Regions from separate parts of the Homo sapiens genome. Here region 1 is linked to region 2. Evidence: promoter capture Hi-C in human tissues and cell types (Jung and others, 2019). All regions are on one chromosome and are shown on one strand. Each heading gives the region's core, a stretch centred on a gene start or on the middle of the fragment in contact. The rest is flanking DNA. Distances are from core to core; before and after follow the strand shown. Region 1 overlaps LOC105370452 (a long non-coding RNA gene). Region 2 holds the start of NKX2-1 (NK2 homeobox 1).

Region 1 (2,793 bases), core at 213-2,712, 460 kb after region 2:
CAAACTATCTTATGGACCAACACATTGGGAGTCCTTGCCCAGCCACTGGCCTCCATCTTTTAGCAAATGTATTCCTCCCTCATGTTCAATTAATTTCCCCCTTCCCAACTCCAACCATGTGGTTACAGGAAAATGTGGCATGTTCTTACCTGATCGTGCCCTCCTAGACACAGCTGGCATCCAAGGCTGAGCAGCCACCTGACCCGGCCACCCAGAGTTCTCCCCTAGCCTTTTAAAAAAATTAATCTGGGAGAGTCAGTCTGTCTCTCTGATAGAAGAAGTTGTAAAAGAACTCCCATGCAAGGTGTCAACAGCCCCATTAACTGCCAAGTGGAGAAAGCTGGTCTGCAGTGGGAGAAAATAGAGCCGGCACCAAGAGAAGTAAAAACCAAAAAGAGAGACAAAGTCCTGACAAGCTGGTTCCTGGTTTGAGGGTTCCTGAGGCCCCACTGCATTCCTTCCTGCCCGGCTGGTGACTTGGTCATCCTACTCTTCTTTCAGTCATGTCGGCTACCCCAAGATCCTTCCATTAAATATCCCTTTTGCCTAAACGAGTTAAATATGGACTTCTGACACTTATCTAAAGTCTAGTGACTCAAATTAGTTTTTCTCAACCAAAATAAACTATGGAATAACCCTTAAATATGGCTTGGGTACAGACAGCATATTTCTTTACAAAACAAATTCAGAGGTATGTTGATATTCTATTAGATTGATTGTTGTAATGGATTTCTCTAATTTGCAGAGATTTCATACCAAATTTGTGTGACAGATTCTTATTACTGAGTTATTAGATTACCCTGAAGGACAAATGCTTGTATCTGTATTTTCTCTTCTTTCTTTTCAATGATATTGTCTTACATTAGTTGGCAAGCAAAAAACCTCAGGAACAACTTGCTCGACTTCATTTTCCAAGTGTAAATTGTCCTGTGTGTACATTACTCTTGGTCATATTTCATGAGGTTATAGTGTTTTAGAACTGGAAGGAATCTCATTATCTGTATAAACCTTTTGTTAGAAGCCAACTGGAGTCTGGTAAAAATCTTGAAGAATCAAATAAGTATATATTCAATCAATACAACCTCTTGAGAACACTTCTAAATTACTACTGTCAGTCCAAAAAACAATAATACTATTTTCAATATTAATACTTACATTCAGTTTGGGAACCTTAATATCCCTTCTTTCTCAGTCCTTTAAGACAGAGACCAATCTGCCTTACTATAAAAGGAACAATAACAATATTAAAACAAATTGGTAGCATAAATAAAAACCATACAACCTCATTATCTTTGTGGAGTAAGTGATTACAGTGCTGCTGGTTACCTGCAGAGGCAAAATGCTACCAGCGGCAATTTTGGTGAATTAACTGGGGTTTATTGGCATACTGTCAAGAATTTAGAATGACTCATGGAATGAGTGTTAATGGAGTGAAACCTTCATTCCATCTATTTGGCAAATGGCAAGGCAATCTAATTGTTTTTCCCTAAAGCAACACAACAATCAGATATTTAGACAGCACATTACTTCCTTTCCTACTGGAAGAAACAGGAGTCATGAGATAAGAGAAGAGATCTAAAAAGCACTGAGATTTTTCTTTGAGTTTTATTAGATTTGCTGAACCTGCACTACATGTTTGAAATGCAGGACTGAACAAAAACGACTGCATTTCTAAGGTAAGCAGAGTATCCAAGGGAGAAACTTGACGTGAATAAACAAATGTTACTGAGTACCCACTGTGGACTCAGCTCTGTGCTAGATACTTCTCAATCGTATTACCTAATAAGAAAACAACTATGAAAAAAAAAAAAAGTATGAGACCATAATTAAAACTAGTTTGTAGAGTGCTCATATCACGGAGGCACGTAAGTCATACAACCCCTTACCGCTCAAAGGGTGGTCTGCTGACCCTACCATCGCCATCGCCTTTGAGCCTGTTAGCAATGCAGAGTCTCAAGCCCTGCCCCGACCCATGAAATCAGAGCTACATTTTAACAATCTCTCCATTTGCACATTAAAGTTTAAGAAGCACTGATTTAACCAACTGTCTTGGCTTATAATTGAGAAAAATAAGGCTCAGGGTGGTTAAGTGATGTGTCTGACCAAACAGCTAGTTAGGAACCCAGCTGGGACTCCCAGGTCTCTCAGCCCGCAGGCCAATGGAACTCAGGATACTGCAGGATTTCAGACAAGAGGGATTTAAGTGTGTGTCATTTCCTCAAATGACCATTGATTGTTCCCATCTTCGCTGTGCAAAGCACATACGTACAGAGACCCTGAGTGAGGCCAATCATCCTGCCTCCTCCCAACACCTCCTCCCACTAATACTCCTGCACAGTCCTCCCTGGAGGGACTTCCCCTTTGCCTGTCCTCATTCTAACCTTTTCCAAGGCCCTGTTAAAGAACCAGCTGCCCATGAAGCCTTCCCTAATGACTCCAGTCCTCTTCAGTTTCTGCATTTTTAATTCAGATTTGCTTCTACATTCTGCATAGGGCATTCTAAAAAGTTACTTATTACACCCTGACACATTTTCTAATACTATGTACTAGACATATTGGCATATGGTTATATAACAATAATATAGATGCAATCTTTTTCTCTATTGTGCTTTTCAATAATTGTATCTATGTCTCCTTTCCAAAATAGATTACTTGTATTTTATCATATTAGACCATCACTTAACACAATAACAGAAATAATACGAAACTCTTGGTGGTGGAAGGGATCCTCTCTAAAACATCCCTAAGACATAGACATGCAGTTTTTTACTTGCATGCTTCCTGTGTTAGGAG
Region 2 (2,742 bases), core at 185-2,684:
GGTGTCCTGAGCTTTCTTTACCCTGGTAAAGAAGGTAGGCGGTGAGAAAAGCGAATGTTATTATAGAAGTTGGCTTTGTATTGAGGGAGTAAGAGCTCTCTTCAAGGAGAGGGCTGAAATCTTTAAAAATAAATAAAACTTTCTCTACTGTAATTGCTATTAATAAAAAAAGGGAGCCCGGATGAATTAAGTAGCTCAAAACTGCCTGTTCGTCATGATCAGGAGCTCCTTCTCTACAAGGAGGGGAAAGAAAATGTGAAAACAAAAACTAAATTCAAGAAGCTCCTTGACCAGCGCGGGTGTCTTGGAGGCACCTGCCGGGGCCGGCCGGGGAGCGCTCCGCCCTCCCAGCCCCTGGCGCGCAGAGGAGACTAAAACAGCTAAGGAGAAAGCAAAACAAAAACAATGATAAAAACGTTTAAAATCCAAGGACAAAAACCGGAGTCGGTCTCAAAATCCGCGCCGTTCAGTGCTCCACTCGGTAGTCGACTCGGCTGCAGGCCCCGGCCTGGCCGGAGCAACGCGGGGGACACCCCCGATTCCGCTGGGGAGCGCAGCCCACAGCTCCCCCTCGCCAGGCGCCCAAGGACCCTCAAGGCGCGGGGCCCACACTTGAAGCCTGGGAACGCGCAGACAGGAAACCCTCTTCCTCCTAAGCAGTTTCTTGCTCGTCGGATGAGAGGCGCCCAATTGAAGCAGAATGATCCTCATCTACTAATATCCAGCGTGGCCACAAAGCGACTGGCCATTTACGCCACCACTTTAAACAAAGATATTTGGTTATTCCCGGGAAGCAAGAGCACTTTTGCATGGCTGAGCTGCGGGCGGAGGCGAGCCTCGGCCCAGCCTCCCGCCCGCTGAGCTGCCCGCACCTCGGCATTCGCCCCCTCCTGGCCAGCGCTCCAGCCGCCGGGGTTCAGGCTCAGTTCCGCCCGGCAACAGACAGACGGGCACTCACGCCGCTCCCTGCTCGCGCGCTCCCTGAAGCATCAGAGGGGAAAACAGCGTGGCTCTGGGCTCGGGTGCTGGGGCTGTGATGTCCTCGGAAAGTCAGCTCCAGCCCCAGATCCCCGCGTGTCTGGGAGATGGGCGAGGGTCAGGGACACCAGGTTTGTTCGAGGTGGGGCAACTTCAGTGACGGACCCTCCCGTGAGACCCCTTCCCATCCTCCCAGCTCTGGGGGCCAGTGCTGTGTTTGCTCGGCCGGGGGTGGGGGGGGGGGGGGAAGACCTTGGGGGAGGCGTGTTAGCGGGGGTGGCCCACTGAAAAACCCCTGAGCTGCGGGGGCGGGTTGTGGCTCGGGGATCCGGGACAGCCTCCGGGAGGCAGTCGATCCCCTACTCAGCGCCCCCTCCGCCCGCTCGGATTCTCTCCGGTAGGGGGAAAGGGGGCGGGGAGCAGAGGTGTCCCTCTGACGGCGGCAGAAGAGAGGCAGACAGACTGACAGACACGTAGACCAACAGTGCGGCCCCAGGGTTCGTCCCCAGACTCGCTCGCTCATTTGTTGGCGACTGGGGCTCAGCGCAGCGAAGCCCGATGTGGTCCGGAGGCAGTGGGAAGGCGCGGGGCTGGGAGGCCGCGGCGGGAGGGAGGAGCAGCCCCGGCAGGCTCAGGTGAAACCCCCACCCTGTCCCTCAGCCCCCTCCTCCTAAAGACCTGTCCGTGCCCGGGGAACCCCGACCGAATTGGAAAGTGGTTCCACTTTGTAACTCCGCAAGTTGGTTGCAAAGCAGCATTCACCTTCCTTCCTCTCAACCATCTCTCCTCCTCTGTTACTCCCCCACCCCACCTCCTGCCCTCCCCGCTCTCGGTTCCCTCCTCCTTCCCCTCCCCTCCACCTCCTCCCCGCGCTCCGCTGGTACCCCACAAAAAATGGGGGTGGGGGTGTCCAAGGGAGGGGGGAAATGCTTTGGGTCTCGTCTCTGCCTCTCTCTCTCTCTCTTTGAGACCTAAAAATCCTGACAAGTGAAACTTAAAGGTGTTTACCTTGTCATCAGCATGTAAGCTAATTATCTCGGGCAAGATGTAGGCTTCTATTGTCTTGTTGCTTTAGCGCTTACGCCCCGCCTCTGGTGGCTGCCTAAAACCTGGCGCCGGGCTAAAACAAACGCGAGGCAGCCCCCGAGCCTCCACTCAAGCCAATTAAGGAGGACTCGGTCCACTCCGTTACGTGTACATCCAACAAGATCGGCGTTAAGGTAACACCAGAATATTTGGCAAAGGGAGAAAAAAAAAGCAGCGAGGCTTCGCCTTCCCCCTCTCCCTTTTTTTTCCTCCTCTTCCTTCCTCCTCCAGCCGCCGCCGAATCATGTCGATGAGTCCAAAGCACACGACTCCGTTCTCAGTGTCTGACATCTTGAGTCCCCTGGAGGAAAGCTACAAGAAAGTGGGCATGGAGGGCGGCGGCCTCGGGGCTCCGCTGGCGGCGTACAGGCAGGGCCAGGCGGCACCGCCAACAGCGGCCATGCAGCAGCACGCCGTGGGGCACCACGGCGCCGTCACCGCCGCCTACCACATGACGGCGGCGGGGGTGCCCCAGCTCTCGCACTCCGCCGTGGGGGGCTACTGCAACGGCAACCTGGGCAACATGAGCGAGCTGCCGCCGTACCAGGACACCATGAGGAACAGCGCCTCTGGCCCCGGATGGTACGGCGCCAACCCAGACCCGCGCTTCCCCGCCAGTAAGTGAGGCCGCCCCACTGCGGGGCCGCGGGCTGAGCTCAGGAGGTGCGGCGAGAGCCG

What was found. Contacts are between HindIII fragments. The study calls those that stand out against the background at their distance.
Region 1: a fragment that was not itself captured here is called in contact with the fragment with the promoter of NKX2-1 in region 2 in 1 of the 25 tissues and cell types used here (dorsolateral prefrontal cortex).

What each region holds. Positions count from the first base shown.
Region 1 is chr14:36,056,572-36,059,364 of GRCh38, reverse strand. All of the region lies in intron 1 of LOC105370452 (a long non-coding RNA gene), which reads left to right. Among named protein-coding and RNA genes, the nearest start is that of LINC00609, 12 kb to the left of the region's middle. The HindIII fragment of the contact is 4,747 bases long and covers 1-2,793 here.
Region 2 is chr14:36,518,924-36,521,665 of GRCh38, reverse strand. NKX2-1 (NK2 homeobox 1) reads left to right here and starts at 1,434. Exons shown (of 3, transcript NM_001079668.3): 1 at 1,434-1,613; 2 at 2,296-2,681. The coding sequence starts at 1,537. It overlaps SFTA3 (surfactant associated 3), which reads left to right and starts at 2,110. Exons shown (of 5, transcript NR_161365.1): 1 at 2,110-2,198. NKX2-1-AS1 (NKX2-1 antisense RNA 1) reads right to left here and starts at 2,388. Exons shown (of 2, transcript NR_103710.1): 1 at 1,987-2,388; 2 at 1-22. RefSeq lists enhancers at 1-18, 19-1,018, 1,019-2,018. The HindIII fragment of the contact is 7,239 bases long and covers 1-2,742 here.